Regions from separate parts of the Homo sapiens genome. Here all the other regions are linked to region 1. The links are contacts of gene promoters, found by promoter capture Hi-C in human tissues and cell types (Jung and others, 2019). All regions are on one chromosome and are shown on one strand. The core of a region is centred on a gene start or on the middle of the fragment in contact, and the rest is flanking DNA. Distances in the headings are between cores, read along the strand shown. Region 1 holds the start of HIPK4 (homeodomain interacting protein kinase 4). Region 2 holds the start of MIA (MIA SH3 domain containing). Region 3 overlaps SNRPA (small nuclear ribonucleoprotein polypeptide A). Region 4 has its middle 2.9 kb from the start of ZNF780A. Region 5 has its middle 30 kb from the start of NUMBL.

Region 1 (5,322 bases), core at 1,854-4,353:
CTCCTGGGCTCTAGTAATCCTCCCACCTCGGCCTCCCAAAGTCCTGAGATTCTAGGCATGAGCCACTGTGCCTGGCCATTTGTACCTCTCGTTCTTTCTTTGCAACTGCCTCTCCATCACTTGCCTGTCTCTTGTCTCTCAGTGTCTCTCTCTCTCTTTCCATCTCTGTCTCTGTGTCGTCCACTAGGAAGACACCTCCCTGAAGTCCCGGTCCTCTTCTGTCTTCCTCTTCAGGCACTGTTCACACTCGTCACAGGCCTTTGACACATGACAGGTGCTTGGCCAACAGCTGCGGAACCAACATTGCGAATGGCCGAAAGCCTTTGTCTCTCCCCATGCCTCTGGTGGAGCTGTCTGCCATTTTCACCCTGAATCTCCGTGACTCTCTCTTGGCCTGTTTCTTTTTCTTTTTCTTTTTCAGGTGGCTTCACTCTTTTGTCCAAGCTGGAGTGCAGCGGCATGATCTCGGCTCACTGCAACCTCCGCCCCCATATGGGTTCAAGCGATTCTCCTGCATCAGCCTCCCAAGTAGCTGGGATTACAGGTGCACCCCACCACATCTGGCTAAGTTTTGTATTTTTAATAGAGACAGGATTTCACCATGTTGGCCAGGCTGGTCTTGAGCTTCTGACCTCAGGTGATCCACCTGCCTCAGCCTCCCAAAGTGCTGGGATTACAGGCTTGGGCCACCACACCTGGCCAGCCTGTTTCCTTCTCTGAGTTTTTCTGCTTTTCATTCAGCCATTTCTCAGTTTTTTGTTTTTGTTTTGTGTTGAGACAGAGTCGAGCTCTGTCGCCCAGGCTGGAGTGCAGTGGCGTGATCTCAGCTCACTGCAAAACCTCTGCCTCCCAAGTTCAAGTGAGTCTCCTGCCTCTGCCCCCCAACTAACTGGGATTCCAGGTATGTGCCACCACGCCTAGCTAATTTTAGTTTAGTTTTTTTTTTTTTTTTTCTGAGACAGAGGGACTTCCTCTGTCGCCCAGGCTGGAGTGCAGTGGCGTAATCTCAGCTCACTGCAACCTCTGCCTCCCGGGTTCTAAGCGATTTATCTGCTTCAGCCTCTGGAGTAGCTAGGATTACAGGTGCCCGCCACCACACCCGGCTAATTTTTATACTTTTAGCAGAGACGAGGTTTCACCATATTGGTCAGGCTGGTCTTGAACTCCTGACCTCAGGTGATCCACCCGCCTCGGCCTCCCAAAGTGCTGGGATTACAGGCGTGAGCCACCGCACCTGGCCATCCCTCACCTTTCACTTGCAGAAAGCAGTATCATGAAATGGTTATTAATTGCTATTCTGATCCCAGAGTGCCAGGGCTTCAGTACCCAAGAGGCTGAGTGACCCTGGGCACTTAGTCTATGTTTGTGGAATGAATTCATTCCTTCCACAGAGACAGTGGGGGTGATAATGCCGGCCAGGTGCTGTGGATCCGTCCTGTCTGTCCCCTGCTGTGTTTGTGGAAGTCCCTGCTTCCCTGGGTCTCTGTCCTTCCACCTCTTGGGGCAGAATAATCCACCTTTTTCTGTCTCTGTGTCTCTGGCAAGCATTCATTTAGCACTGGCTCCATGACTGCAGTGCTGGGAGATGTCAGGGACACAGCGATGATTAAGTCAGCCCCAGCCTTGCCCTCAGGGTGCCCCTGGTTCAGAAGCATCCAGACAGTATCAAACTCAAAAGCAGACAGAGGACTGGGCATGGTGGCTCACACTTGTAATTCCAGCACTTTGTTGAGGCCAAGGTGGGCAGATTGCTTGAACTCAGGACTTTGAGACCAGCCTGGGCAACATGATGAAATCCTGTTTCTACCAAAAAACACAAAAATTGGCTGGGCGTGGTGGCTCACGCCTGTAATCCCAGCACTTTGGGAGGCTGAGGCAGGTGGATCACAAGGTCAGGAGTTTGAGACCAGCCTGGCCAACATGGCGAAACTCCATCTCTACTAAAAATACAAAAATTAGCCGGGCATGGGTGGCGGGCACCTGTATTCCCAGCTACTCAGGAGGCTGAGGCAGGAGAATCGCTTGAACCCGGGAGGCGGAGGCAGTGAACCAAGATCATGCCATCATCACCCCGTCTCTGATAAGTACAAAAAAAAAATTAGCTGGGCGTGGTGGCGCATCCCTGTAATCCCAGCAACTCGGGAGGCTGAGGCAGGATAATCACTTGAACCCAGGAGGCGGAGTTGCAGTGAGCTGAGATTGTGCCACTGCACTCAAGCCTGGGTAACAGAATGAAACTCCGTCTCAAAAATAATAATAATAATAATTTTAAAAAATTAAAAAAAAAATCTAGGGCTGGAAGAAGCTGGGAAAAAGACAAGGAACTAGGGACGCAGCCACCCTAGACGACCCCTACTCACCTTGACCCTGAAGGGGCAGCGGGTCTGGTCCACCAGCATGATGTTCTCAGGCTTGAGATCAGCGTGGATGATAGCCAGCTCCTTGAGCCGGGCCAGGGCTGTGAGCACCTGCAGGGTGACTGTACGGATGTGGCGGGCGGGGAGGGGCGCGAAGTTGTTCTCCTTCTGGAACTCGAAAAGGTTTTGCTCCAGCAGCTCAAAGACCAGGTAGAACTTGAGGGCGTCATGGAAGAACTCAAGGAAGCGGATGACGTGGGCCTCTTCAGGGTCTAGGCCTCGCATGCAGTGCAGCAGCTTCAGCTCGTTCTTGATGATGCGGTTGCGGTAGGCGTCATTCTTGAGGATCTTGATGGCCACCATCTCGCCCGTGCTCCGCCGCCAGCCCTTGGCTACCTCCCCGAAGGTCCCCTTGCCCAAGACCTCGATGATGTCGTAGCAGTCAGTCTCCGACTGGATGGTGGACATGGTGCCGCTGCTGCCAGACACCGCCCTGCCCAGGCCCCTGTACCACTGGCTCTGCCGCCCAGGCCTCCCGCCTGGCTGCTGACACAGCAGGCCCCCCAGTGGGGGAAAGAGAACCGCACTCGTGTCTCCTCCTATGAGGTTGGCCCCTGCTTCCCTGGCACCCCCAAACCCCCAGGCCACACTGTCAGTCTGCCAGGGGCTGCACCCCTCCCCAGAAACCCTCCTGGCTTGGGATGAGGGGCCCCAGGCCCCACCGAATGGGTTCCAGCGCTGTTGAGTGGCTCTGGTTCTGTTGTTGGAGACCTGAGCCCTGGCTGGAGTGGGGGTGGGGTACCAGGCTGGGCCCCCTCCCCCGCCCAGTGGCGGAATCTTGCAAAGACCAAACAGGTGAAGTGTTGACAGAGGGGGGTCTAATCGTGGGCCTTGGGCATACAGGAATGGGGATAAGGCAGGAGTGAGGAAAGGTGGGCTTCTTGAGCTTGGGAGATGTGATGTGTGTGTGTCTGTGTTCAGAAAACTCCTGTCCCAGTCTGTGGCTACTGTGGGGTGAGGTTGTAAAAGGCCCTGAATGCCAGGCTAAGGAGTTTGGATTCTGTTCTGAGGGCACTGGGGAGCCACAGAAGGGCTTTGAGCAGGGGAGGGCAGGGTCAGATATGAGTGTCAGAAAGTTACTGTATGAAAAGGGATAGGTTGGAGCGGGTAAGAGTGGAAGCCCCAAGCCAGGGAAAGAGTCCAGGACAGGGCACAGATGGGAGAGGTTGGGGAGGAGAGGGCGAGGCCAATGGATGAGACACTCAAAAGGCCAGGAGAAGCAGCCGTGAGACCGACGGTTTGAGGGAAAGGCGGGAGCTGTCTAAGAACGGGCCTAGGGCTCTGGGATGAAGGGGCAGTCCCCGAGAAATGGACATGGATAAGAAGCAGCTTGGGGGAGATGTTGAGGCCAAATTAGAAAATGTATTTATTTTTGGCTGGGTGCGGTGGGTCACGCCTGTAATCCCAGCACTTTGGGAGGCCAAGGAAGGCAGATCATAAGGTCAGGAGATCGAGACCATCCTGGCTAACACGGTGAAACTCTGTCTCTACTAAAAATACTAAAAATTAGCCAGGCATAGTGGAGGGCGCCTGTAGTCCCAGCTACTCGGGAGGCTAAGGCAGAAGAATAGCTTGAACCCGGGAGGTGGAGGTTGCAGTGAGCCGAGATTGCACCACTGCACTCCAGCCTGGGTGACAGAGCGAGACTCCATCTCAAAAAAAAAAAAAAAGTGTTCATTTTTATTTATCTTTTTAATTTTTTGTAGAAATGGGGTCTCACTATGTTGTCCAGGCTGGTCTCAAGTGATCCTCCTGGCCTCAAGTGATCCTCCTGCCTCAACCTTCCAAAGTGCTGGGATTGTAGACATGAGCCACCACTCCAGCCAGATTAGAATATTTAACAGCGGGCCGGGCTCGGTGGCTCATGCCTGTAATCCCAGCACTTTGGGAGGCTGAGGCAGGTGGATCACCTGAGGTCGGGAGTTCGAGACCAGCCTGACCAACATGGAGAAACCCCGTCTCTACTAAAAATACAAAATTAGCCGGGTGTGTTAGCACATGCCTGTAGTCCCAGCTACTCAAGAGGCTGAGGTCGGCAGGCTGAGGTATGAGAACTGCTTGAACGCGGGAGGTGGGGTTGCAGTGAGCCAAGATTGCGCCATTGCACTCCAGCCTGGGCAACAAGAGTGAAACTCCGTCTCAAAAAAAAAAAAAAAAGTAAAAGAAAATGTAACATCAAAACATTTAAACAAGGATGAAGTTCTTTAGAAGTCTTATCTGATCCTTACAACATACAAAGTAGGGATTTTATGGAAGAGAAAATCAAGGCACAAAGAAGTTTTTAAAGTGCCTGGCCAGGAGTGGTGGCTTACGCCTGTAATCCCAGCACTTTGAGAGGCCAAGGTGGGCGGATCACCTGAGGTCAGGAGTTTGAGACCAGCCTTGCCAACATGACAAAACCTCAACTCCACTAAAAATACAAAAATTAGCTGGGCATGGTGGTATACACCTGTAGTTCCAGCTACTTGGGAGGCTGAGATCGGGAGGCTGAGGTATGAGAATCGCTTGAACCTGGAAGGCGGAGGTTGCTGTGAGCCAAGATTGCACCACTGCACTCCAGCATGGGCAACAGAGTGAGACTCTGTCTCAAAAAATAAAAATAAATAAATAAATGATAAAATAAAATGCCTAAGGTCACTCAAGTGACTGCCAGAGACAGCCTCTGACCCTAAGCAGCCTGGCTCCAGCGCCAAACTCTGAACCACCACCCACACAACCTCCTAAAAACCAGGAGACCTCTGGAGAAGGGGTGCAGAAGCTGCTGGGTCCCCAAGGGGATGCAGGAGAGAGTTTGGGAGTTGTCAGCACAGAGAGGAGGCGTGGAAGCCATGGGGGAGGGTGATGCACCCTAGGGAGGGTGTGGGGGTGGACAAGGGCCCGGGAGGAACCTCCGGTGCCCAAGGAG
Region 2 (5,322 bases), core at 2,677-5,176, 390 kb after region 1:
TTACAAACCTTTAGCTAGACACAGAGTGCTGATTGGTGCATTTACAATCCTTTAGGTAGACAGAAAAGTTCTCCAAGTCCTCACCGGCCCAGAGGCCCAGCCATCTTCACCTCTCAAGCTGTCTGTAGAGGTCCACGTGTCAAGAAAACTGAGGACAGAGGCCCTCAGTCCAGTTCCCACAAGCAACTGCATCTCCCCAACAGCTGCCTGAATGAGTTTGGAAGCAGTCCTCCCACCATTCAGCCTTCAGATGAAACTGCACCCCTGGCTGACAGGCTGATTGCAGCCTTATAGCAGACCTTAAGCCTGAGACATTCGACCCACAGAAAAGGTGATAATTTTGGTCTTTTTTTTTCTAAACAGGTTCTTGCTCTAGAGTGCAGTGGCACGATCATGGCTCACTGCGGCCTCTACATCCTGGGTTCAAGTGGTCCTCCCACCTCAACCTCCTGAGTGGCTGGGACTACAGGTTTGTACCACCATGCACAGCTAGTTTTTCTCTTTTTTTCTTCTTTTTGTAGGTACAAGGGTCTCCCTGTGTTACTTAGGCTGGTCTCAAATTCTTAGGCTCTAGCAATCCTCCTGTCTCAGCCTCCCAAAGTGTTGGGATTACAGGCATGAGCCACTGCACTGGGGCAATGTTGGTCTTAGGCTAATTATGCAGCAGGAGATACATGCACTGTGCTTTGGGAATTGAAGTCACTTCTATTTCTTTGTGGCTTCATCAGTAATATGGGGCAGGGGGCACGGTTCCCACAGCTGATTCTTGAGTGTTCTTTCTGAGTATCCTTAATACTTCACACACTATCATATATCTGAACTTTGTTCATTGATTATCTCCCCTTTAATTTTCATTCCTTGATGAATCTCCAGGGTCTGGATTAAGTCCTAGGATACTTTATGTACTCATGAAATCTTCAATGAATGAAGAAATGATTTTTTTTTTTTTTGAGACAGAGTCTCACTCTGTCACCCAGGCTGGAGTGCAGTGGCATGATCTTGGCTCATTGCAACCTCCACCTCCCAGGTTCAAGCAATTCTTCTGCCTCAGCCTCCTGAGTAGCTGGGACTACAGGCATGCGCCACCATGCCTGGCTCATTTTTGTATTTTTCAGTAGTGACAGGGTTTCACCATATTGGCCAGGCTGGTCTTGAACTCCTGACCTCAGGTGATCCACCCACCTCAGCCTCCCAAAGTGCTGGGATTACAGGTGTGAGCCACTGCATCCGGCGGATTTTTTTTTTTTTTTTTTTGAGACAGGGTCTCACTCTCTCGTTCAGGCTGGAGTGCAGTGGCGTGATCTTGGCTCACTGCAGCCTCCACCTCCCAGTTTCAAGTGATTCTGGTTCGGCCTCCCAAGTAGCTGGGACTACAGGTGTGTGCCACCATGCCTGTCTAATTTTTGTATTTTCACCACGTTGGCCAGGCTGGTCTCAAAACTCCTGACCTCAAGTGATCCGCCTGCCTCAGCCTCCCAAAGTGCTGGGATTACAAGAGTGAGCCACCATGTCTGGCCTGAATGAAGAAATAATTTTTTAAAGAGTGTTTTAAAGTGGGGCCGGGTGCGGTGGCTCACACCTGTAATCCCCACACTTTTGGAGGCCAAGGTGGGTGGGTCACTTGAGGTCAGGAGTTTGACACCAGCCTGACCAACATGGTGAAACCCCATCTCTACTAAAAATACAAAATTAGCTGGGCATGGTGGCAGATGCCTGTAATCCCCGCTACTTGGGAGGCTGAGGCAGGAGAATCACTTGAACCCGGGAGGGGGAGGTCACAGTGAGCTAAGATCGTGCCATTGCACTCCAGCTTGGGTGACAAGAGCGAAACAATGTCTCAAAAAAAAAAAAAAAAAAAAAGAAATTGCATTTCAAAGCCAGGTGCAGTGGCTCACACTTATAGTCACAGCTACTTAGGAGGCTGCGGTGGGAGAATAGCTTGAGCCCAGTTGTTCAAGGCTGAGTGAGCTGTGATTGTGGCACTGCACTCTAGTCTGGGTGACAGAGTGAGACCCTGCCTGTAAAAAAAAAAAAATCTTTCAGGCCAGACGCGGTGACTCACTCCTATAATCCCAGCACTTTGGAACGCCGAGGCGGGTGGATCACCTGAGGTGGGGAGTTCGAGACCAGCCTGGCCAACATGGACAAACCCTGTCTCTACTAAAAATACAAAAATAGCCGGGCATGGTGGCACATGCCTGTAATCCCAGCTACTCGGGAGGCTGAGGCAGGAGAATTGCTTGAACTCGGGAGGTGGAGGTTGCAGTGAGCTGAGATTGTACCACTGCAATATGAGACTCCATCTCAAAGAAAAAAAAGAAAAAAAAAAAAAGATAGCATAGCAATGGCTGTGGGCCTGGATACAAGTCTTAGCCTCTCCACTTCTCCACTTCCTGGCTCTGTAAGCCTTAGACAAGTTCCTTAACTCCACACTTCCATTTCCATGTAACAAGGGGTTATAGGCCAGGCATTGGTGGCTCATGCCTGTAATCCCAGTGCTTTGGGAGGCCAAGGCGGGAGGATACTTGGGGACAAGAGTTCAAGACCAGCCCAGGCAGCACAGTAAGACATTGGCTCTAGAAAAATAAAAATAAAAGAAATCATCCAAGAATGGTGACTTGCCTACTATTCTACTCGAGAGGCTGAGAGGGGAGGATTTCTTGAGCCCAGGAGTTTGAGGATGCAGTGAGCTATGATCACATCACTGTACTTCAGCCTGAGCAACAGCAAGATCCTGTCTCAAAAAATTAAATTAGGCTGGGCTTGGTGGCTCATGCCTGTAATCCCAGCACTTTGGAAGGCCATGGTGGGCAGATTGCTTGAGCCCAGGAGTTTGAGACGAGGCTGGGCAACATGACGAAACCCCGGCTCTACCAAAAAATACAAAAAATTAACTGGGCATAATGGTACATGTCTGTGGTCCCAGCTACTCGGTAGGCTGAGGTGGGAGGAATGCTTGAGCCCAGGAAATAGGGGCTACAGTGAACCAGGATCATGCCAGTGCACTCCAACCTGGGCAACAGAGCAAGACTCTACCTCAAAATAATTATTTAAAAAAATGGATTAATTGGGCATAGGTGGCTTGTGCCTGTAGTCCCAGTTACTCAGGAGGCTGAGGTGGGAGGATTGCCTGAGTCTAGGAGGTTGAGGCTGCAGTGAGCCGGGATGGCACCATTGCACTCCACCTGGGCAACAGGGTGAGACCCTGTCTCAAAAAAGAAAAAAAAGGGAGGGGTTATAATCACTCCTCCTGACATGATACAGAGTATCCATTTGAGTTCATAACATAAATATGTACTTGGTGAATGCTCTGTAACTATTGGCTTTTTTATTGTTCCCATTTTACATATAAGGAAGCTGAGGCTTTGTGAGGAGAAATAGCTTAGCCCAGGTCATCCAGTGGGAAGCGTCTGGTGCAGAGGAATAGTGATCATGGTGGGACTTTGCCTAGCCTAAGGTTCAGCATACAATATTCAGTCAGTACTCAAGGGCTGGGCTGTTTCTGGTAATCAAAGGGCTGCCTTGTTCTCCTGCCCCACAGCACAGGAAATTCCAAGGTGGTTTTCTTTACAGGCTCCTCCGCTTCTGTGGCCAGAGGGGACAGCGGAGGAGCCCAGGTACCTAAGCCAACTCAAGAGAAGATGGAATTGAATATTTCAACCACCTTATCTAGGCCTCTGTGATTGTTGAGGAGGGGGCTGTCACTGGGAAAGTTGTGAGCTGCTTTGGACCTTATCTGGGAATTTCCTTGGGCTTACAGCCTTTACCCTATCCTTGAAATGGTTCTGGTTTCATAGCAACTTCTAGGTGGTGTGGGCGAAGTTTGGGACTGGTTTAGGGCGGGGACAAGACCAAGAACACAAGTTTCCTTGTACTACGGGAGAGAGGGAGGGGAGGAAATTGGAGACCCCAGCACCCCCTTGCTCACTCTCTTGCTCACAGTCCACGATGGCCCGGTCCCTGGTGTGCCTTGGTGTCATCATCTTGCTGTCTGCCTTCTCCGGACCTGGTGTCAGGGGTGGTCCTATGCCCAAGCTGGCTGACCGGAAGCTGTGTGCGGACCAGGAGTGCAGCCGTAAGAATGGGGAGGGGAGAATTGGGGGCTTGGGCGTTAGCCTGTGTGGAGGGTGCTGCATTCCCTTCTATTCCTTCCCTAGACCCTATCTCCATGGCTGTGGCCCTTCAGGACTACATGGCCCCCGACTGCCGATTCCTGACCATTCACCGGGGCCAAGTGGTGTATGTCTTCTCCAAGCTGAAGGGCCGTGGGCGGCTCTTCTGGGGAGGCAGCGTGAGTCTTGGGAGAGTGAAAGAGGGAAGGGTACAGAGCTGGGGTAGACTCATTATCCCCATGAAGGGAAGATTTGAGGGGGGTGAACTGAAATAGACATTGTGGGGGGATATTGTTACTTACTTTATTTTATTTGCTTATTATTTTTTAATTTTTTCCGAGACAGAGTCTTGCTCTGTCACCCAGGCTGGAGTGCAATGGCACGATCTCGGCTCACTGTAACCTCCACCTCTTGGGTTTAAGCGATTCTCCTGCCTCAGCCTCCCAAGTACCTGGGATTACAGGCATGCACCACCACACCTGGCTAATTTTTGTATTTTTAGTAGAGACAGGGTTTTACCATATTGGCCAGGCTGGTCTTGAACTCCTGACCTCATGATCTGCCCGCCTTGGCCTCCCGGAGTGCTGGGATTACAGGTGTGAGCCACTGCCCCCCAGCCTATTTTCACTTTATTTACCAATTTTAGGACCTGATATGGTCCCACGTTCTGTTCTAGACACCAAGATACAACAACAAATGATCCTTTTTATTCTAATGGAGGGAAATGAACAAAAAGCAAGGCATAAAAAATAGCAGCAGCCGGGCACAGTAGCTCACACCTGTAATCCCAAGTAAGGCCAAGTTGGGAGGATAGCTTGAGCCCAGGAGTTCGAGACCAGCCTGGGCAACATAGCAAGACCCCCATCTCTATAAAAAAAAATTTAAAATTAACTGGGCTTCATGGCATGTGTCTGTGGTCCCGGCTACTCGGGAGGCTGAGGTGGGAGGATTGCTTGATCCCAGAAGTTGAGGCTGCAGTGAGCCGTGATCATGCTACTGCACCTCAACCTGGGCGACACAATGAGACCCTGTTTCCAAAATAATAATAATAATAAAAGCAAATATGCGCTGCTGTGAGAATTAACAGAGACTTACTTGGGTGTTCAGAAAGGGCCTCTGAACAGGTGGCATTTAAGCTGAGATTCATATGACAAGGATGGAGCAGTTATGTGGAGATCAGGGAGAAGGGAGAATGCAAAGGCCTTCAGCA
Region 3 (5,322 bases), core at 1,538-4,037, 370 kb after region 1:
TTGGGGAGCCAGACTGCTTCCCTGTCCTGGCTGCCTCCCTGGTGGAATATCCTCCCAGCTGTGGAGGGTAAATGCGAATGGGCGAGGGGAGGCTGGAGAGTAGAGAGAGGCCCAGAGTCCCGTGGAATGAGTGAAGTCTGAGCAAGATTCATGGGGATGGAGTACGGAGAGGAAAACCAGAAATGTCACCACCAGGAGAATTTTTGACTAATTGCTTAAAAACAACCTTGACTGCTGTCCCTGCCCCCACCCAGCCTACACATTTTCTTGCTTCTTTCCTAGCCTGGTATCTATTTTACAAGTGGCTTCTGCTTCAGCTTAGCTTTTTTTTTTGAGATGGAGTTTCGATTTGTCACCCAGGCTGGAGTGCAGTGGCGCAATCTCTGCTCACTGTAACTTTTGCCTCTCTGGTTCAAGCTATTCTCATGCCTCAGCCTCCCCAGTAGCTGGGATTACAAGCGCCCTCCACCACGCCTAGCTAATTTTTTTTCTTTTCTTTTTTTTTTTTTTTTTTTTTTTTGGCATTTTTAGTCAAGACGGGGTTTCACCGTCTTGGCCAGGCTGGTCTTGAACTCCTGACCTCACGTGATCTGCCTCAGCCTCCCAAAGTGCTGGAATTATAGGCATGAGCCACCATGCCTGGCCAGTTTTTATGAAGGTTGGAGTCCAGTGGTGAGGTCATGGCTCACTGCAACCTCTGCCTCCCAGGCTAGAGTGATCCTCCCACTTCAGCCTCCCAAGTAGCTATGACCACAAGGCATGCACCACTATGCCTGGCTAATTTTTGTATCTTTTGTAGAGACAGGGTTTCACCCTATTGCCCAGACTGGTCTTGAACTCTTGAGTGCAAAGGATCTGCCCACCTCGGCCTCCCAGAGTGCTGGGATTACAGGTGTGAGCCACCATGCTTGGCCATCTCAGCCATCTTCTTTGCATAAGACATTGGTGCCCTTTGCAGACCTGGGTGGTGAGAGGGAGTCCATCCTTGTTGAGCTTGAATCTCACTTGCTGTCAAGTGATGCCCTTTGCTGGTGAGATGTGGTGGTACCGGGTTCAGATGGAATACGTGGACTGGGCTCTGCCATACGCTTCCTTATGCCCTCCAGATTGATGCCCTGGGCCAGTGAGGAATCCTCTGAGAACCTGTTTCCAGTAAAATTGGGACAGTCATAGTTGCCACCTAATGGGTTTGTTGTGAGGAAGTGAAGTTACCTCCATAAAGCATTTGATGGGGGTGCGATGACTCATGCCTGTAATCCCAGCACTTTGGGGAAGCCAAGGCAGGAGGATCACTGGAGCCCAGGAGTTCAAGACCAACCTGGCCAACATAGGAGACTGTGTCTACAAAAAATAAAAAATTAGCCGTGCGTCGTGCTGCGTGCCTATGGTCCCAGCTCCTTGGGAGGCTGTGGTGGGAAGATTGCTTGAGCCTGGGAGGTCAGGCCTGTAGTAAGCTACCATCATGCCACTGAACTCCACCCTGAGCAGTAGAAGGAGATTCTGTCTTTAAAAAAAAAAAAAGGCACTTGATGGTATCTAGTCAAATGTTTGCAGCCAGGTGTGGTGGCACACTCCTGTAATCCCAGCACTTTCGGAGGCCAAGGTGGGCTAATTGCTGAAGCTCAGGAGTTCAAGACCAGCCTGGGCAACATAGCAAGACCCTGTCTCTGCACAAAATCCAGAAATTAGCTGGGCATGGTGGCATACACCTGTGGTCCCAGCTACTCCATAGGCTGAAGTGGGAGGACCGCTTGAGTCCGGGAGGTTGAGGCTACGGTGAGCCATGATCATGCCACTGCACTCCAGCCTGGGTGACAAAGTGAGACCTTGTCACCAAAAAAAAAAAAAAAAAATTGTGGTGGAGTCTGTGCTAGGCTTGGCATACTGCAGTAAACAAATGGGACAGGCTTATAGCTCCTCAGGCAAGATAGACAAGTTAACGTACCATGACAGGAGGTGGGAAATAGTCATGAAAGAAAAGGAAGTAGAGTAAGAATGACATGGGAAGAAATTTAGACGTCGTGGTCAGAGGTGGCAACATTTCCTCTGAGACTGGGTGACTAGAAGGAGGCCACCATGTAAACCTCAGGGGAGGGATGTTCCAGGTAAAGAGAGCAGCCAGTTCAAAGGCCCTGGGGCAAAATTGGTGTGTCAGACCTGGGGGCCAGTGTGGTTGGGAACTCAGGAGGGCGGTGGAATGTGGGCAGGGATGAGGTGGGGGAAATCTGCCAGGGCCACGTCATGCAGGCCCATGTCAGGGTGCTGGTGGCAGTGAAAAGAATCACTCATTTATCGAGTGTTTACTACGTGCCGGATGCTGTCCTGAGCACTTTGCATGTATGTGCACATGTTCATTATATAGCAGCTCTCTGTAAGCACATCTTACAGAAGAGTAGAAGAGTGTACTTGGCCACTTGAGTGGTTCCTGGCTGCTTCTGTGATTGTTAGGTCTTGAGAGATTATGGACCCGAGGCATTCTGGGTACCCCATCAATTGGCTGATGGTCTTCTATTTGGGCTGCGCTTCTTCTAAAAAGGGGAGCTCAAAGGTCTTTTTTTCCCCCACTGCAGAGCTAAAAAAGTCCCTGTACGCCATCTTCTCCCAGTTTGGCCAGATCCTGGATATCCTGGTATCACGGAGCCTGAAGATGAGGGGCCAGGCCTTTGTCATCTTCAAGGAGGTCAGCAGCGCCACCAACGCCCTGCGCTCCATGCAGGGTTTCCCTTTCTATGACAAACCTATGGTGAGCATTGCGGGTACGGAGGCTGTGTGGGTGTGTAAAATGTTATAGGAGACTGGGCGGGCCTGGATTAGAGGAGGGGATATTACGGTTCATTTGCCAAGGTGAGGCTGGACCAGGCTCCCACTGCACCTTGCCTCATTTAAAAATCTTTTCTTTGGCCGAGGGCGGTGGCTCACGTCTGTAATCCTGGCACTTTGGGAGGCCGAGGCAGGTGGATTACCTGAGCTCAGGAGTTTGCAGCCAGCCTGGGCAACACCGTGAAACCCTGTCTCTACTAAAATACAAAAATTAGCTCGGTGTGGCAGCATGCACCTGTAGTCCCAGCTACTCCTGTGGCTGAGGAAGGAGAATTGCTTGAACCCGGGAGGCAGAGATTGCAGTGAGCCGAGATCCTGCCACTGCACTCCAGCCTAGGCAACAGAGTGAGACTCTGTCTCAGAAAAAATAAATAAATAAATAAATAAATAAATAAATTATTTTGAGACAGAATCTTCCTCTGTTGCCCAGGCTGGAGTGCAGTGGTGCAATCTTGGCTCACTGCAACCTCCACCTCCCGGGTTCAAGTGATTCTCCTGCCTCAGCCTCCTGAGTAGCTGGGATTACAGGCACGTGCCACCATACCTGGCTGATTTTTTTATTTTTAGTAGAGACGGGGTTTCGCCATGTTGCCCAGGCTGGTCTCAAACTCCTGAGCTCAAGTGATCTGCCTGCCTCAGCCTCCCAAAGTGCTAGGATTACAGGCGTGAGCTACTGTGCCACACTAAGAATCTTTAACATACCTTCCCCTACTGAATAAGCACCATGAAAGAGGGGTTTTTGTCTATTTTGTTCATTGCTTTATTCCCAGAGCCTTGAATGGCGCCTGGCATCTGGCAGGTTCTCCTTAAACAGCTAAGTGAGTGAGATTGAACCTGGAAGACTGAAGTATTCTTGTGTGACAGGAAATCCCCCTGCACTGCACTCCTCTCCTAGCATTGTCTCCTCGGTCCTTTGGCCTGATGTTTATTGCTGTTCCAGCTTCCCTTAAAAATACCAACAGCCTTTCTACTGAACACTTGCTTACTGTGTGTCAGGTACTGTTCCAAGCACTTTAACTCATTTAGTCCTCACAACAGTCCTTTGAAGTGGGAAGTATCATAATCCCCATTTTTCAGACAAGGAAGTTAAGGCCAAGATATTTCTGTGTTTCTCAGTAAGCTCCTGATAAGGTCTGAATTTTTTTTTGTTTGTTTGTTTTTTGTTTTTTGTTTTTTGCTCTGTTGCCTGGGCTGGAGTGCAGTGGTGCCATCTCAGCTGACTGCAACCTTCGCCTCCTGGGTTCAAGCGATTCTTCTGCCTCAGCCTCTTGAGTAGCTGGGACTACAGGTGCGCACCACCATGCCCAGCTAATTTTTGTATTTTTGGTAGAAATGGGGTTTCCTGGCCAGGCGCAGTGGCTCATGCCTGTAATCCCAGCACTTTCGGAGGCCGAGGTGGGTGGATCACCTGAGGTCAGGAGTTCGAGACCAGCCTGGCCAACATGGTGAAACCCTGTCTCTACTAAAAGCACAAAAATTAGCCAGGCGTGGTGGTGGGCGCCTGTAATCCCAGCTAGTAGGGAGGCTGAGGCAGAATTGCTTGAACCCGGGAGGCAGAGGTTGCAGTCAGCTGAGATCTCATCACTGCACTCTAGCCTGGGTGACAGAGCAAGACAATGTCTCAAAAAAAAAAAAAAAAGAAAAGAAACAAAGAAATGGGGTTTTGCCATGTTGGCCAAGCTGGTCTCCACCTCCTGGCCTCAAGTGATCTGCTCGCTTTAGCCTCCCAAAGGGCTGGGATTACAGGCATGAGCCGCAGCACCTGGCCCCTGATAAAGGTCCAATTTTGAATCTTGGCAATTGGGCTCTGAATCCACGCTCTTAACCCGTTCTGCTCTCTGTTTGGTAGCGTATCCAGTATGCCAAGACCGACTCAGATATCATTGCCAAGATGAAAGGCACCTTCGTGGAGCGGGACCGCAAGCGGGAGAAGAGGAAGCCCAAGAGCCAGGAGACCCCGGCCACCAAGAAGGCTGTGCAAGGCGGGGGAGCCACCCCCGTGGTGGGGGCTGTCCAGGGGCCTGTCCCGGTAAGCCAGGTCCCGGAGACCAACCCTCCCACTGCCAGACCTTCCTCAGCCACATGGACTGGCTTTGGGACAGGGTGGGGAGAGTTCTCCCCTTGGGGCTTCAGACCCCTCCTTTCCATTTCTTTATAGAGATGTGTTTCTCTCTCTCTTTTGGGGGGTATTGAGCACCTAGATGATGCTATCTCCTTTCGAAACTCTTGTTCCCTCCTTGTGACTGTTTCTCAAGGTCTTTCTTCATGGCTATGACTTGGTTTCGCTCTCTCCGTGGCCTTGATTTTGTCGCCTGTGTCTTGTAACTCATTGTGCATGTAGAAAATCCAAGTGTCTACTAAGCAACTGTTAGGATTAATAAGTGAACTTAAATTTAGAAAGATCGCTGGATATAAAGGCAATATGGAAAAAAATTAGTTTTATTTATTTATTCATATTATGTTTTGAGACAGGGTCTCACTGTCACCCAGGTTGGAGTGCAG
Region 4 (5,322 bases), core at 1,160-3,659, 300 kb before region 1:
GAACTTTTAAAGAAGAAAGAAGAATTTAAAGTAAAATTATGTCAACATGTAGGTGCTTTAACTCCTTTGTCTCAGACCCCAGCGATAGGCTTCCACTTCTCTGTGCTATTTGAAGGGGACTTAGGATAAATTTGAAAAGCTTGAACTAAAGAATTGGTTGGTTATATACTAGGAGAGGAAGTGTGGTTCACATTGGAGATTTCAGAATCAAATGTCCTGGATTCTTCGAGACAATGTTCCTGTTATCTGGAGAGAAAAACGTGATTCAGGACGACATGGAAACGGATAAAAATACACAGATAATTACTTGCCTTATCTTGAAGGATGAATAATTAACACTTTGTTAAAATAGTATAAACAAATGCAAAAAAGGGCTTGCTTTTCCTAGGAAGAGCCTGATTTCACTGTTGTAGTCTAACAATATTTAACTTTCAAAATCATTTTTCTAGTTTCCTATGCTACATAAGGAGGAAACATGTAATAATAAAGAGCAAAACGTCTTTTCATTCCAGAATTGTGACAGAAAACAAATAAGATGATTAACTCAACCATATCAATAATCACATTAAATGTAAATGGTCTAAACACCTTAATTTAAAAAGATTGTCAGATTGGATTTTTTAAAAAGTCAGACCCAAATGTGCATCAATGATAGACTGGATTAAGAAAATGTGGCACATATACACCATGGAATACTATGCAGCCATAAAAAGGATGAGTTCATGTCGTTTGTAGGGACATGGATGAAGCTGGAAACCATCATTCTGAGCAAACTATCGCAAGGACAGAAAACCAAACACCAAATGTTCTCAGTCATAGGTGAGAATTGAACAATGAGAACACTTGGACACAGGGTGGAGAACATCACACACCGGGGCCTATAGTGGGGTCGGGGGAGGGGGAAGGGATAGCATTAGAAGATATACCTAATGTAAATGACGAGTTAATGGGTGCAGCACACCAACATGGCACATGTATACATATGTAACAAACCTGCACTTTGTGCACATGTACCCTAGAACTTAAAGTATAATAAAAAAAGATAATTAAATAAATAAATAAACAAAAAGTCAGACCCAAATGGGTGCTACCTACAGGTAATATGTTAAATGAAAAGCACTAAAAGGTTAAGAGTAAAAGGATGGAAAAATATACACCATCCTAACACTAGTCAAAAGAAAGCTGGAGTGGCTTTATTAAAAACAAAGTAGACTCCGGACATAGACTATTACCAGAGATAAAGAAGGGCATAATAATGATAAAGGAGATAGCTCATCGAGTAGAAAAAAACAAACATAAATTTTGCTCCTAAAAGCAAAGCTTCTAAGTATGGGAAGAAAAATCTATTAGATCGAAAAGGAGACAGATCCACAATTATAGTCAGATATTTCAATATATCTCTCTTGGTAATTGATAGAACAAACACAGAAAAGCAACAGGGTATAGCAGATTTGAGCTACATATCAACTTACTTGATCTCATTTATATTTGAGAACACTCTCCTCAATGACAGTAAAATTCATCTATGTGGACAGGGGATACTTACCAGTATAGGCCATATTCTGGGCCATAAAACAAGTCTCAATAAATGTAAGAGGATTCGAGTCATACAAAGCATATTCTTTGACAAAAATGGAATTAAATTAGAACTCAATAATAGCTGAATATATAATATATTGTCCAAAGTAGTACAAATTCGAAAAGGTATGAATACTAAGGTAATTGAAATTATGTAATGTTTGAAAAATTCCTGTATTAATTATAATATTCTGTTATATCCTAAAGGGTGAAACAATAACATATATACGTTAAAGCAAAATAACAATTTTGTAGTAAGGAAAAAAATTTTTAAGCTATTTATGTTGACTAAACATTAGAATAAAGCGGAGAATAATTATATTTAAGTATATTCTGATACTTTAATCGATTTCCTAACCAATATCACCATTCTTTTTAAGTATTTTCTTTCAATGTGGTCTATTATTTTTAAATTTTGATAAAATTTTATGCAATCTTCAATGTTGGACTTTATGTTTAATAAACTCAAAATTATAGCTACCTTCAAATGACTCTTCTCTGAACACCATACTTTTTAAACTGAGATATATACTCTGTATATACTAAGGTAACCAGAAGTCTCAGAATATATCCAATGAAATGGAAGATATCCTCACAAGTATTGTGAATATTGAATATGGAAAAATTAGATTGCAGTTCATATTCTTGTAGTTAATGTATCTTGCCTTCAAGGTACATCTCTTTTTTTGCCATCTCTTTTTTGTACCCTAAGAAGGGTACATTTCTTTGATAATTATCTTTACAAGGCAAACATATTGGTTCTATTTATGATTCCTTTGAATGTTAAGCCAAATTTAGATGCTGCAGTAACATAAGGCTTCTCAACTGCGCTCCATTCTGACACAAATTGCAAATTGATCCAGTTAAAAATTGGAGCATCATCAAAAGACTATTCCCATAGCTGAAGAAATTCCTCAGTAAAATTGAAGAATTTCAAAATTAAATCCTGTATGCCATCTGATATTTCATGACTTAATTCATTCAGTTTCTTTCTTAATTTGTAGGACTAAATCCCATTGTCTTCATGTTGGCCAGTTCTGATAACTGAAATTCAGTTGAATTTCTATGTTGAATAGGAGTGGTAAGAGAAGACATCTTTGTCTTGTGCCAAATCAACACAATCTTAAACAACCAAAGGATTAAAGAATGAATACAAAAATTTAGAAAATATTTTAGATAAATACAAATAAAAACACATGTTACCAAAGTTTATGATATGCTTATTACTAAGAGAAAAATTTATAGCTCTACATGCCTATATAAAAGAAGAAAGATGTCAAATCAACAACCTAACTGTACAACTTTAGGAATTAGAACATGAAAAATAGCAAAACAATAAATAAATAGAAGACAAGAAAGGAAGGAAATAATAAAAATAAGAGTGGAGTTAAATAGAGAATAGAAAAATAATACAGAAAAATTACAAAATTAAAAGTGGTTCTTTGAAAAGATCAAAAGAAGTAGCAAAATCTTAGCTGGATTGACTGAGAAAAAAATAGAAAAGACTCAAATTACTAAAGTCAGAGGTGAAAGTGGAGACATTACTAACCTTACAGAAATGAAAATGATTATAGAAGAATATTATAAACAATTGTATGCCAACAAAATAAACTAAATGGAAAGGAACAATTCTTTTTTTGCAATATTTATTTATTATTATACTTTTAAGTTCTGGGATACATGTGCAGAATGTGCAGGTTTGTTACATAGGTATACACGTGCCATGGTGGTTTGCTGCACCTATCAACCTGTCATCTACATTAGGTATTTCTCCTAATGCTATCCCTCCTCTAGTCCCCCACCCCCGACAGGCCCCAGTGTGTGATGAGGAACAATTCTTTACACAAACTGTCACTGATTCAAGAAGAAATAGAAAATCTTAAGAGGAGTGATGTCAGCAAGATTGGAGAATGGGACTTTCCAGCACTTAGCCCTCACATCAATTTAAACATCTGTTTACTCATGAACAAACTTTCACAAGAGCTAAAGTATCCAAGTAAGAGATTAGAGCACCTTGCTGTAGCACAGAAACAGGAAAAGATACATTAAAGAGGCTAAGAAGGAGCGTTTTGCATTACCTAGTCCATCACTCTCCCAAGCCCAGCCCAGAAATTATAGTGTGGTGAGATACCCTCCGTGTTAGAGGATGAATAAAGTGAACACCAACTTTGCTGTGGACCCTGGCAGCAGGACTACTCCACTGAAACCCAATGACCAGCTGGCCCCCTTGACCCAAACTCCAAGGTGGCACCCTCAGCTCCAGGCACAAAGCTGGCACCCACAGATCCAAGCTCCAGGATAACCCCCATGGATACAGGCTGTCAGCCTACCCAGCCCCTGTGGCTCCAGTCTCTAAGCTGGCTCCCATGGTCCTACACTCTGACAAACCCAGGGTTCAAACCCACTCCACCGCATCCAATATCCAGACCTGGCCCAGGAGACCCCAAGTGCCAGGCCAGCTCCTAGAGACCAAAGCTTTAGAACCACACCTAAAAACACAGGCTCCAGGCTGGCCTCCATATCCCTAGGACAGCACCCACAGCCTCAAGCTTCAGACTGACCCCTGTGGAATCCAGACCCAAATATGCCCCAGACCAGACCCAAGCTCCAGGCTGGTTCTTGTGACCCTATGCTCCAGTGGACCCAGGGTCCACGCCTGCCCAAGCGGATCCTGGAAGCAGGGTGACCCCTATGAGCTCAAGACCAAGGCATATTATGGGCCTATGTCCAGACCACCCCAGCACCAGGTCAACCTCTGTGGACCCAGACTTCAGGCTGGTTCCCATGGACAGTCCTCAGGCCTATCCATTTGTTGACCCTGGCACCAGACCAGCATGTCTGATAACTTCAGCAGTAATCCCACCCACAAACTTCTCTATACAGCCCACCCAATATCTCTGATGAAGGGCTTTCACTACCAAAGCTAGTCTGTAAAGACTAGAAGGGATGCCTACTTCTTCAAATGTTCAACACCAAAGCAAGTTCACAAAGATCATGAATAATTAAGAAAACATGACACCAACACAAATCAAAATAAACCATCAGTAACCAACTCTAAAGAAATGAACATTTACAAAATGCCTGGCAAAGAATTCAAAATGACTGTTTTAAAGAAACTCAGTGAGCAAACAAGAGAATACAGATAAACACTAAACAAAATCAGGAAAATGATATAGGAACAAAATTAGAAGTTCAAAAAAGAGATAGAAAACATAGCAAATTTTTGCAAACAAAAATTCTGGAACTAAAGAACACAATAACAGACTGAAAAATTCCATAGAATGCCTGAAGAGCAGACTTAAGCAGAATAAAGAATTAATGAGCTTGAAGACAGGTCATTTAAAAGTTAAAAGACAGGCCAGGTGCAGTGGCTCACACCTGCAATTCCAAAACTTTGAGAGGCCAATGTGGGAGAATTGCTTGAGGCCAGGAGTTGAGACCAGCATGGGCAACATAGTGAGACCTTAATTCTACAAAACAAACAAAATTTTTTAATTTAAAAAAATTTAGCTGGGCATGGTGGTGCAGAGCTGTAGTCCTAACTACTCAGGAGGCTGAGGCATGAGGATAACTCGAGCCCAGGAGTTTGAGGCTGCAGTGAGCTATGTTCATGTCAGTGTACCCTAGCCTGGGTGACAGTGAGACTCTGTCCCAAACAAAACAAAACAAGCTAAAAGGATTAAAAATGACTATAACTACAACAATTTGCCTATGGGTACATGATATATACAAGATACAAATTAT
Region 5 (5,322 bases), core at 1,065-3,564, 270 kb after region 1:
TATAGGTATGAGCTACAAATTGCTATTGTGTTATGAGGGGAATTCAAAAAGTTGATGGAGAATGGAATTAAGAGATAAAAATTTTAAAAAAATCTTTATTTCTCACCATAAACTCCATCAAGGTCAAAGTCAAGACACTTTTGTAAACCATTATACCAGCCATTTAGTCTATCCCTAAATAACTGAGGGTCCCAGGAATTTAATCATGTCAGTGCAGCCTTTTTACATTTTCTCTTTCTTTTTTTTTTTGATGGAATCTCACTCTGTTGCTCAGGCTGGAGTGCAGTGGTATGATCTCGGCTCACTGCAACCTCTGCCTCCCGGGTTCAAGCCATTCTCCTGCCTCAGCCTCCTGAGTAGCTGGGACTACAGGCATGTACCACCACATCTGGCTAATTTTTTTTTTTTTAGTAGAGACGAGGTTTTGCCAAGTTGGCCGGGCTGGTCTCAAACTCCTAACTTCAGGTGATCTGCCCGCCTCGGCCTCCCAAAGTGCTAGCATTACAGTTGTGAGCCACTGTGCCAGGCCTTTTTTTTTTGTTCTTGTTGCCCAGGCTGGAGTGCAGTGGCATGATCTCGGCTCACTGCAACCTCCACCTCCTGGGTTCAAGTGATTCTCCTGCCTCAGCCTCCCGACTAGCTGGGATTACAGTCATGAGCCACCACACCTGGCTAATTTTTGTATTTTTTTTTTTAGTAGAGACAGGGTTTTGCCATGTTGGTCAGGCTGGTCTTGAACTCCCAACCTCAGGTGATCCACCCTCCTTGGCCTCCCAAAATGCTAAGATTACAGGCGTGAGCCACTCCGCCCAGCCCAGTCTTTTTACATTCTTAACTGAAGAAAAATGGGTGCCCTTCAAAGATTTTAAGATTAGGAAACAAAAAGTCAGAAGGAGCCAAATTGGGACTGCCAAGTGGATGCCTAATAATTTCCCATCAAAACTTGTAAAATTGCTCGTTTGATGAGGAGAATGAGCAGAAGCGTAGACATGCTGGAGAAGAACTCTCTGGTGAAGCTTCCCAGGCTTATTTCTACTAAAGCTTCGGCTAACTTTCTCAAAACACTCTCATAATAAGCAGATCTTATTATTCTTTGACCCTACAGAAAGTCAACCAGCAAAATGCCTTGAGCATCCCCAAAAACTGTTGCTATGACCTTTGCTCTTGACCAGTGTGCTTCTGCCTTGACTGGATCACTTCCCCGCTCTTGGCAATCATTCTCTGATTACGATTTGTCTTTAGGATTGCACCCGTGAAACCATGTATCATTTCCCGTTACAATCCTTCAAGGAAATGCATTAGGATCTCGATCTCACTTGTTTAGCATGTCCATGGAAAGCTCTGCTCTTCTCTGCAGCTGATCTGGGTGCGACCGTTCTGGCACCCATCGAGTGGAAAGTTTGTTTAGCTTTAATTTCAGTCAGAATTGTGTAAGCTGAGGCCGGGTGAGGTGGCTCAAGCCTGTAATCCCAGCAGTTCGGGAGAATGAGGCAGGAGGATCACTTGTGTCCAGGAGTTCAAGACCAGCCTGGGAAACCTAATGAGACCCCCATCTCTACAAAAAATACGAAAATTTAGTGTCAGGCCTCTGAGCCCAAGCTAAGCCATCATATCGCCTGTGACCTGCACGTATACATCCAGGTGGCCTGAAGCAACTGAAGAGCCACAAAAGAAGTGAAAATAGCCTTAACTGATGACATTCCACCATTGTGATTTGTTTCTGCCCCACCCTAATGATCAATGTACTTTGTAATCTCCCCCACCCTTAAGAAGTTTCTTTGTAATTCTTCCCATCCTTGAGAATGAACTTTGTGAGATCCGCCCCCTGCCCGCAAAACATTGCTCCAAACTCCACCGCCTATCCCAAAACCTATAAGAATTAATCATAATCCCACCACCCTTTGCTGACTCTCTTTTTGGACTCAGCCTGCCTGCACCCAGGTGAAATAAACAGCCTTGTTGCTCACACAAAGCCTGTTTGGTGGTCTCTTCACAGGGACGCGTGTGACACTTAGCTGAACGTGCTGGCACGCACCTGTAGTTCCAACTACTTCGGAGGCTGAGGTGGAAGGATCGCTTGAGCCCAGGAGGTTGAGGCTGCAGTGAGCCACAATCTCACCACTGTACTCAGCCTGGGCGACAGTATGAGAACCCTGTCTCAAAAAAAAAAAAAAAAAAAAAGAAAAAAGAATTGTGTAAGCTGTACCAATTGAGATGTCTATGGTGTTGGCTATTGTTTCTGCTGTTAACTGTAAGTCCTCTTTAATTAAGGCATAAACAAATTTAATTTTTTTCTGCAAAAATTGATGTGGATGGTATGCCACGGTGGGCTTCATCTTCAGCATGACCCAGGCTGGAGTGCAGTGGCGCAATCACGGCTCACTGCAACCTCTACCTCCCAGACTCAAGTGATCCTCCCACCTCAGCCTCCTGAGTAGCTGGAACTACAAGTGTGCACCACCACACCCAGCTAATTTATGTATTTTTTGTACGGATGGGGTTTCACCATGTTACCCAGGCTGGTCTCGAATTCCTGAGCTCCAATGATCCGCTGGCCTCAGCCTCCCAAAGTATTGGGATTACAGGCGTGAACCACCACGCCCGAACTTGTCCCTTCTTAAAACGAGTTATCCATTTGTAAATGGCTGATTTCTCTGGGGCACTGTCAAGTTTTTGGAAAACATCAATGATTTCATCATTCTTCCACCCAAGCTTCACCATCAATTTGATGCTTGTTCTTGCTTCAATTTTAGAATTCGTGTTGCTCTGATAGGGGCTCTTTTCAATCTGATGTTTTATTTTAGTGTCTCAAACTAGGTCCTGTTCAGACAAGTTATAACAAGTTAGTATGAATTTATTTTGGTGCAAAAAAAAAAAATTGAACTCCATGCATAGTTTTTTCATAATACACATTTTCCATGAATTTTTGGAAGACCCTTCTTTTTCTCTCTTTTTTTTTTTTTTTTTTTTTTCTGTAGAGATGGTCTTGTTCTGTCACCCAGGCTGGAGTGCAGTGGCACAATCATGGCTCACTGCAGCCTCGACCTCCTGGGCTCAAGCAATCCTCCCACCTCAGCTTCCTGTTACTGGGACTATAGGTGTGCACCACCACACCTTGATAATTAAAAAAAAAAATTTTTTTGTAGAGATCGGGGTGGGGGGGGGGGTCTCACTATATTTTCCAGGCTGGTCTTGAACTCCTGGCCTCAAGTGACCCTCCCCAATCAGCCTCCCAAAGTGCTGGGATTACAGGCACAAGCCACAGTGCCTGGCCAATAAATGTTTTTTGAATGAATGAAGAAATTAGTGCATGGACATATTTTCCCATCAGCTATTACAATAACCAGACTCTGAGTTCCCTGAAGGCAGGGCCTGTGAGTTTCATTGTGTACCCTCAGCCCTCAATAGCTGATAAAAATAAATATTCAGAAAATGCTTGTAAAATGAAGAAGAGAATATGTATGGGACAGAAAGTAGACCAGTGGTTGCCTGGGGCTGGGACAGGGAATAGGGAGCGACTGCAAATGGGCAGAAGGGATCTTTTCAGAGTGATGGAAATGTTCTTGAATTGGCTGTGATGGCTGCAGAACTGTAAAATCACCCAAAATCAGTAAATCACTTATAATAGGTGAATTTTATGACAGGTAGATTATACCTCAGTAAAGCTGTTAAAACAAAACCAGTGTTGAGGGAGGAAATAAATGTTACCTTGGTAATACTGAGGACTCAGTAGTTATCAAGACAGCTCTCTTCCCTGCCCTCATGAGGTTTTCTGTGCAGGGCGGGGACGCCGACCCATTATAGACAGTGACAGCCTAGAGCCATCACGGCGGGATGGTGGGGAGGGGACAGGCAGAGGGGTGGGAGGCCAGGATGGGGGAAGCCCGGGCAGAGAGGTTGGGCTGGAATGGGGGGCACAGGCAGAGGGGTCGGGGCGGGGACTGGTGAGGTGCAGGCAGAGGGCAAAGGGGTCGAGGTCCAGATGGGAGATGTACAGGCAGACGGATCCGGGCCAGGGCGGGGAGGTACAGGCCCAGTTGAGGAGCATAAGGAACCATAGGAGCCCAAAGGAGGCGCCCGACCAGTCAGGGAGGACTTCCCAGAGGGGTGAATGGCTGAGCCAGGGCCTGAAGTATAATGTTCATGAATGCGACAGCAATTTTTTTTTTTTTGAGACCGAGTCTCCCTCTATCACTGGAGTGCAGTGGCTCGATTTCGGCTCACTACAACCTCCACCTACCGGGTTCAAGCGATTCTCCTGCCTCAGCCTCCCGGGTAGCTGGGACTACAGGCGCCCGCCCCCACGTCCGGCTAATGTTTGCATTTTTAGTCGAGACGGGGTTTCGCCATTTTGGCCAGGCTGGTCTTGAACCCCTGACCTCAGGTAATGCACCTGCCTCGGCCTCCCAAAGTGCTGGGATTACAGGCGTGAGCCACCGCGCCCAGCACAATTTTAATTTTTCTTAAACACTTTTCCTGCCTTAGCAAAGTCTTGGAGGGGCGGCCGCCCAGGCGCCGCGAGCGCAAGACCACGAGGGGGCGCTGCTTCACCACGCTAGAGGAGCGCTCCCGGCAACCACGTGGCCCCACAGGTGCGGGAGGTCGGCGAGCGCGCCTGGAGGGTGGACGGGGTAGGTTACGGCCAGGCAGCCCGGGGTGGCGCGTGGCCCTGCGCAGGGCAGTGGAAGCAGCGGGCCCCAGGGAGCATGAGACGCCGCGCTCCGTGGGGCGGTCCCAGCGCTGTGCAGCGAGGGGCCAGGGCTGTCCCCGGTCCTGCGCGGCCGGCTCCCGGAGAAACTGTGGCCTCCTGGGGGTGGAGCTTTAAAAAACAAAACAAAACAAAACAAAATCACCCAACAGGAAGCGGGGTGGGGGCGCCCGGCTCTGTCACCCGTGGAATGCATCAAAATAGCCTGCGCGGCCGGGGGCGGTTCCGGGAAAGGGGGCGGCCGCGAGGGGCGGGGCTGCAACGGAGGGCGGAGCTTCCCAAAGAACGGGAGAGAGGAGTGCAGAACCGGCCCCAGGGGGACGTCCTCCTGTTCCCCCAAAATGACCTCGATAGGCGTTTGTGTGGGATGGGGTTCCTGGGTAGGGCGGGGCTTTCCAGTGCGATGTCCCTGGTCTATTCTTAGCGGGCTGAAACCTGGAGAAGTGGGAGTGGGCGGTTGATCCGGGTTCCAGGGCCTCTTTGGAGCGAAAAGCTCCGTGGAGAGCCAGAGTCTCCATCCTGGGCGTGGGAGGGAAGATGGGAAATGGGCCAAGAGGAGCCTGTGGGAGGTCCTCCCCGGGACGGCCCCCTTCCATCTGCATCCGCGGGAACCG

Evidence for each region. The method cuts DNA at HindIII sites, captures the fragments that hold promoters and counts their contacts. A contact is called where the count stands out against the background at its distance.
Region 2: the fragment with the promoter of MIA here is called in contact with the fragment with the promoter of HIPK4 in region 1 in 1 of the 25 tissues and cell types used here (spleen).
Region 3: a fragment that was not itself captured here is called in contact with the fragment with the promoter of HIPK4 in region 1 in 1 of the 25 tissues and cell types used here (dorsolateral prefrontal cortex).
Region 4: a fragment that was not itself captured here is called in contact with the fragment with the promoter of HIPK4 in region 1 in 1 of the 25 tissues and cell types used here (dorsolateral prefrontal cortex).
Region 5: a fragment that was not itself captured here is called in contact with the fragment with the promoter of HIPK4 in region 1 in 2 of the 25 tissues and cell types used here (bladder and spleen).

What each region holds. Positions count from the first base shown.
Region 1 is chr19:40,387,078-40,392,399 of GRCh38, forward strand. It overlaps HIPK4 (homeodomain interacting protein kinase 4), which reads right to left and starts at 3,104. Exons shown (of 4, transcript NM_144685.5): 1 at 2,361-3,104. The coding sequence starts at 2,825. RefSeq lists enhancers at 2,457-3,006, 3,007-3,556. The HindIII fragment of the contact is 19,093 bases long and covers 1-5,322 here.
Region 2 is chr19:40,771,595-40,776,916 of GRCh38, forward strand. MIA (MIA SH3 domain containing) reads left to right here and starts at 3,927. Exons shown (of 4, transcript NM_006533.4): 1 at 3,927-4,075; 2 at 4,158-4,291. The coding sequence starts at 3,949. MIA-RAB4B (MIA-RAB4B readthrough (NMD candidate)) reads left to right here and starts at 3,943. Exons shown (of 10, transcript NR_037775.1): 1 at 3,943-4,075; 2 at 4,158-4,291. The HindIII fragment of the contact is 14,863 bases long and covers 1-5,322 here.
Region 3 is chr19:40,754,762-40,760,083 of GRCh38, forward strand. It overlaps SNRPA (small nuclear ribonucleoprotein polypeptide A), which reads left to right. Exons shown (of 6, transcript NM_004596.5): 2 at 2,571-2,743; 3 at 4,670-4,849. Among named protein-coding and RNA genes, the nearest start is that of SNRPA, 6.2 kb to the left of the region's middle. RefSeq lists an enhancer at 309-448. The HindIII fragment of the contact is 9,764 bases long and covers 1-5,322 here.
Region 4 is chr19:40,091,203-40,096,524 of GRCh38, forward strand. No RefSeq gene overlaps it. Among named protein-coding and RNA genes, the nearest start is that of ZNF780A, 2.9 kb to the left of the region's middle. RefSeq lists enhancers at 1-15, 3,443-3,532. The HindIII fragment of the contact is 3,361 bases long and covers 730-4,090 here.
Region 5 is chr19:40,658,395-40,663,716 of GRCh38, forward strand. No RefSeq gene overlaps it. Among named protein-coding and RNA genes, the nearest start is that of NUMBL, 30 kb to the right of the region's middle. RefSeq lists a silencer at 4,524-4,803. The HindIII fragment of the contact is 4,666 bases long and covers 1-4,647 here.